2 separate regions of the Homo sapiens genome follow, and region 2 is linked to region 1. Evidence: promoter capture Hi-C in 16 types of primary human blood cells and fetal thymus (Javierre and others, 2016). All regions are on one chromosome and are shown on one strand. Each heading gives the region's core, a stretch centred on a gene start or on the middle of the fragment in contact. The rest is flanking DNA. Distances are from core to core; before and after follow the strand shown. Region 1 holds the start of WFDC8 (WAP four-disulfide core domain 8). Region 2 holds the start of WFDC13 (WAP four-disulfide core domain 13).

Region 1 (2,887 bases), core at 259-2,758:
GCAGGCAGATCACCTGTGGTCAGGAGTTCAAGACTAGCCTGGCCAACACGGTGAAACCCTGTCTCTACTAAAAATACAAAAATTAGCCTGGAGTGGTGGTGCACACCTGTAGTCCCAGCTACTCAGGAGGCTAAGGCAGGAGGATCCCTTGAACCCAGAAGGTGGAGGTTGCAGAGAGCCGAGATCACACCACTATGCTCCAGCCTGGGGGACAGAGAGAGATTCCCTCTCAAACAAAACAAAAAAAATAAAAATAAAAATAAATAAATAAATAAAGTATGTAGAGTTTTATTTAATAATTAACCACACAGATTAAAAAATAGAAAGTAGCCAGCTTCCCAGAAGTCTTCTGTGTGCACCTTCTAATTACCATCTCTGTCATGTGTCTTCAGACAGAAGCACATATAAAAACAAGGTTATGTATTGATCAAATGATGAAAATGTGTGGTCAGAGGCTTGCATTTTCCCTAGGAGCAATGGCTCAGTATTTGCTAATCCGGTGTTCACAGTGACTTTACAGAACATAACTACCCCCAAGTAATGGGAATCAACTGTATTTTTATTACTTTGGTGTACAAAGAACTTTGAGCTCTCCATGGCTTGCCACAACAAAAGACTTCCTAGGCAAATTGTCTACTGCTTTGTTCCAAGTGGGGGCTCTACTTGAGGCTGTGGGACCAAGACAAAAGAAGCAGCCTCTATGTGGATTAGGCCCCTTCTCCTGGCAGAGAGAAAGCACAAAGGAGCTGGCAGAAACTCACAGTGCAAAACTCACTATGCATATGCTACATCTGCTCATACTCCAATAGGCAAAGCACAGCTGACAGCAAACCCAAAGTCAATGAGACAGAAATGTGTCTTCCTTCCACGGGCCGTTCTAAAATTGCAAGGTAATGGACAGGAGTGTCCTCTTAAAGGAAAGATGGAATGAATAGTTGTGAATAATAATATAACCCATCACTACTACTCCTGTTTTAATTTTTTGAAAATGTTTAGATACATATTATATGCTTGTTTAATTTAAAATATCAAACTTTACCTTGCTCAGGCTCTGCCCCTCCACACTGGGCCACTCAAAGATGCCCAACTTACCCTACTTGGGCTCCAACAGCCATATCAGGTTGCATTCGAGACCAGCCTGGCCAACATGGTGAAACCCCGTCTCTACTAAAAATGCAAAACTTAGCCGAGCGTGGTGGCGCACACCTGTAGTCCCAGCTACTAGGGAGGCTAAGGCAGGAGAATCGCTGGATGCATTGATGCCCTCTTCACCCTGCTTAGGCTCTGATTCCTGACACAAGACAGCTCTGTTCTGTGGAACCCCTCCTCACTATGCTTGGCCCAACTCCCCACAGCCGACCACTCTAACTTCTATGTATCCTCCTCATCTCCTTGGGCTCAGACCCTCCATGTCTGGCTACCCACCCCCATAGACACCCTCCTCACCCTCCTTCAGTTCGGACAGTCCACATCAGGCCTCTTCCCTATGGAGACAGCTTCCTCACTTTGCTCCAGCTCTAAGGCTCCTCCCTCATCTGCTCCCCTGCCTGGACACTCTGCTCACCCCACTCAGGCTCTCATTCTATGCCAGTCTGCCCCTCTAGCCCCAGGGGGATGCCTTTCTCAACATGGGCAGGCTGGTCTCCATGCTATGCTGCTTCTTGCCTCTTCACTGGGCATTCTCATCTACCCCTGGCTCCAGCACACCAGGCCAGCAGCCCTCCTACAGAGACACCCTCCTTGACCTGTTCCAGCTCTGATGCCCACACGGAGCCAGCCGTGGCTCCCTTCCCCTTGGGGCAAACGCCTACCTTGCTAAATGTGCCTATCTAATGGCTTTAGGACTGACTAGTTCAGTTAGTAAAGAAAAGGAGACAAAACAAGGAAGAGCTACTTTTCCTTTTTGTAAAAATATGTATTGTGAAAAACACCACAAAAATAAAAATATGCATGAAACATTAATGTTCAGTCTAACGAACTATTACGAAGTGACCACTCATTAAACTATCACTGAAATCAAGTAAAAAATTTCCAACACTTTCTGCTCCTTTTTCATTCTTTTCCAGTCACAACCCCTTCCTATGCTCTCAAAGGCAGCTAATGGTAGTGACTTTCTTTTTCATATTTTCAAGATCATATGTATTCCCCTAAATATGTTTTTGTTTTTGTCTGCTTCTGTTCTATATCAATGGAGTCACTTGGAATGTATTCTTTTGTGCCTGGCTTTTTGTGTTCAACATTATATTAATGAATTCCATCCACATTGTTTTGTGTAGCTGTATTTTGTCAATTTTCATTGCCATGCCATCTATTGTATGACTACACACATCTCTACTGAGTTGTTTATAGTTTGCAGCTGTTAAGAATAAAGCTGCTGTGTGTATACATAGCATGTATGTAATAACGTTCTGCACGTGTATCCCAGAACTTAAAGTATAATAAAAAACTAGGATTTTCTAAATAAAAATGTTATTTATATCAACATGTAATAAGTTTATTACGTTAAATGAATTAATAAATGTTTTTAAATGTCAAAAAAATTTTAAACAATTTACTCATGTAAAAAAAAGAATAAAGCTGCTATGAACACTCTGTGTGCATTTGCTGGAGCACGTGGGCAGGTGTTCTTGTAGGTTATACATTCAGCATAGGGAATGATGGGTTACAGGGTATGCATATCTTCAGCTTCTCAAGCTGATACCAAATTATTTCCCAAAGAGTTTGTACCAATTCACAGCCTTGCCATTGGTAGTTGAGAGTTCCTATTGTTCCATAACCATGCTGTATGTAGAACTGTCACAATCTTTTCATTTTTACCATCCTGCTACGAGTATGGAAATACATCACTGTGGACTTAATTTAAATTTCTTGACTACTAATGAGGTTG
Region 2 (2,887 bases), core at 260-2,759, 120 kb after region 1:
TAATGTTTGAAAATCTGAATGTTCACTGCATTAACAGATTAAAGGATATAAAAATGTTATCATCTCAATATACATAGAAAAAAGCAATACATATAATCTGACATAAACTAATTTAAAATTTCTTGTTAGGAATGAAAGAAAAATTTCTAAACCTGATAGAGGGTACTTATGAGAAACCTAAAGTGGAGACAATTCTAAAAGGGGAAACAAGAAGTTTTCATTTTAAATCAGGTATCAGACAAAAATACACACTATCACCACTTACATATGATGTACTCAAGGGCCTAGCGAGCACAGTGAGGCATTAAAAATGGCATAAAGTTTGAAGAAGAAAACTATAACTGCTTATTTGCCTATGATAAACACTGAAGAGAACACACAAAGAAACCATAATAAACAATGGGAGAATTTAGCAAGCTAACTAGTTACAAATTTGTGGAAAGAAGAAAAGATCCAAGCTTTAAAGAGAGGAAAGCAAGTTTGAAATAGTATTTGTAGAAAGTGGGAACACTGGCTTACTGAAGAAACTTAGTAAGATTGCCAGACCCTTTTTGGTTTGGTGATGGTGCATCTATTGTGCTGTTTAGTAGCCCAGTTGAGTTATTTTCCCCCAGCAACAATTATCTGCCTAGGTTCAAGCTTCAATGAAATTGATGGTTGGATTCATTCAGGGTTGCAGTTTTTGTAGGTAGATTCAAGCAAGGAGATTTAAATGACAGGTTCTGAGTCCTACATTGATAGAAAGAAAAGTAAACGCCTATAGGGGAGGACTACGAAATAGGGAAGTGAAGAGTCAATGTTTATTGGTTTCAGTGAGGTCAAATAATTGTCATGGTGGAGATTTTTGAGCAAACTGGAAAGTTAACTTCTCTACATTAGCAGTAAACAAAAGGAATTAGTTGAAAAGTTATGATAACATTTACAATTTCCTTTTAAAAACTTCAAGCCTCAGACCAGGCGCGGTGGCTCACACCTGTAATCCTAGCACTTTGAGAGGCTGAGGAGGGCAGATCACCTGAGGTCAGGAGTTCAAGACTAGCCTGGATAACACAGTGAAACCCCATCTCTACTAAAAATACAAAAATTAGCTGGACATGGTGGTACACGCCTGTAATCCCAGCAACTCAGGAGTCTGAGACACAAGAATTGCTTGAACCTGGGAGGAAGAGGCTGCAGTGAGCAGAGATCGCACCACTGCACTCCAGCCTGGGTGACAGAGCCAGACTCCATCATCTCAAAAAAAAAAAAAAAAAATTCAATCCTCTGTGAATAAATATAACATGTACAATTTCCACAGGGGAAAATTATAAAAAAATGTTAAGGGACATGAATAAGATCTAGATACAGATGAAAGAGATAGCAAGGTCAAGATTAGGGGAATAAAGGAGGATATGAAAACACTACGTGACCCTGGAGTGGGTGTGATTGGGAGGTGCTTGGATTCCTGCCCTGCCGGTTTTGATTGGAGTACACGGTGAAAGGCTAGTCACACTGGGCCTCCACTTTGCCCTCTTTCCTTCTCTTCTCCTCACAGCAGTGCCTGGTCAAACCCAGCAACCCTTGGCCAGAACTTACTCACCCATCCCACTGACACCATGAAGCCTGTGCTGCCTCTCCAGTTCCTGGTGGTGTTCTGCCTAGCACTGCAGCTGGTGCCTGGGAGTCCCAAGCAGCGTGTTCTGAGTAGGTGCTGGATCTGGGCCCAAGGAGGGAAGTAACATGTGTGGATAGGAGAGGATCTGAGGGCTGACAGTCTGTCACACCTCTTGGAAAAATACCGTGTCATGTTCAAGGGCCCAAGCTTTATTGTTGGCAAGATCTAGGTTTGAATCCCTGCTCTGTTGCTGAGTGACCTTGGGCATAGTATCTGGGCCTCAGGTTTTTATCCTTATAATGAATACAGGAGGAGAACAGATAATGCATGCAGACATAGCTCACTCTTACTAAACCATGGTAAATGCTCAGTAATATTAAATGCTGTAAATGTGATCAGCCTCATCATCCAGCTTAGTCTTGCTGCCCGTGGCTCCTTCATGGATGCTTGGACTCACTTTTCAAGCAATAAAACAGAGAGACAACGAAGTTGGTAGAACTCAAGCTAGAATCTACATAACCTTGGCCTTGGAGGATGTTTTGGGAAGGAGGGAAAGGAAGTCTTGCCTTTTATTCCACATTTTCAAACTCCAGAGGTACTGTACAATTACCGGTAATTAGCATCAATGGGACAGTGTAGAGTCCATCTCAGCAGCCACCACTGCCCAGCTCAACTCAAAAGAGCTCTGGCTCTAGTAATGTTGACCTTAACCAATACCAAGTGGGAAAAGAACTGTTATTCATCATACATCCACTCTTCTATGGGGAAAACATCTTCAGAATACTGGCGGCTCAGAAGAGGGATAAGTGTGGTAGCTCATGTGTCTGGGGAGGCTAGGTCCTGCTTAAGAAGTTTCAGAAAAGGCATGCAGGTTTGTAGGACTAAGAGGGACTAAGCAAGCTACAAGAAAATAGGAGTGCCCAGGGTAGAGTTAATTGGAGAATCAGAATTTGAGGAAAGGCACAAAGAGGCTTTCTAAAAGACTGGTAAATGCTGTGAGTGAAGTTGGGACCAGATACCCAGAAGAGGGGTCAAGACTTGAAAAGGGTGACCTCTCTGAGATCTCTGGATCATGGTGTCTATCTCTAAACTGCTCTGTTGAGCCCCAAGCTCTTCAAAGTGTGGATTAGTTCCAATTTCTTGCAGTGCCCCAGTGAGCTATAGAATAGCTGAGAGGCCAGGGGTGAGTACTAGTTATTGGTCTCTGTTAAATTGTCAACAGCTTGAACCTCAGCTTCTTTTACCCCAATTCTGGTGCCATTTGCTACTACAGTTATAGTCATGACCTCTTTC

Evidence for each region. The method cuts DNA at HindIII sites, captures the fragments that hold promoters and counts their contacts. A CHiCAGO score of 5 or more calls a contact.
Region 2: a contact is called between the fragment with the promoter of WFDC13 here and the fragment with the promoter of WFDC8 in region 1, in 11 of 17 cell types (M2 macrophages, M0 macrophages, endothelial precursors and 8 more). The highest score is 9.2, in M2 macrophages.

The regions. Positions count from the first base shown.
Region 1 is chr20:45,577,776-45,580,662 of GRCh38, forward strand. WFDC8 (WAP four-disulfide core domain 8) reads right to left here and starts at 1,509. Exons shown (of 6, transcript NM_130896.3): 1 at 1,447-1,509. The coding sequence starts at 1,472. RefSeq lists an enhancer at 324-1,259. The HindIII fragment of the contact is 6,723 bases long and covers 1-2,887 here.
Region 2 is chr20:45,700,529-45,703,415 of GRCh38, forward strand. It overlaps WFDC13 (WAP four-disulfide core domain 13), which reads left to right and starts at 1,510. Exons shown (of 4, transcript NM_172005.2): 1 at 1,510-1,683. The coding sequence starts at 1,596. All of the region lies in intron 2 of WFDC10B (WAP four-disulfide core domain 10B), which reads right to left. The HindIII fragment of the contact is 1,162 bases long and covers 638-1,799 here.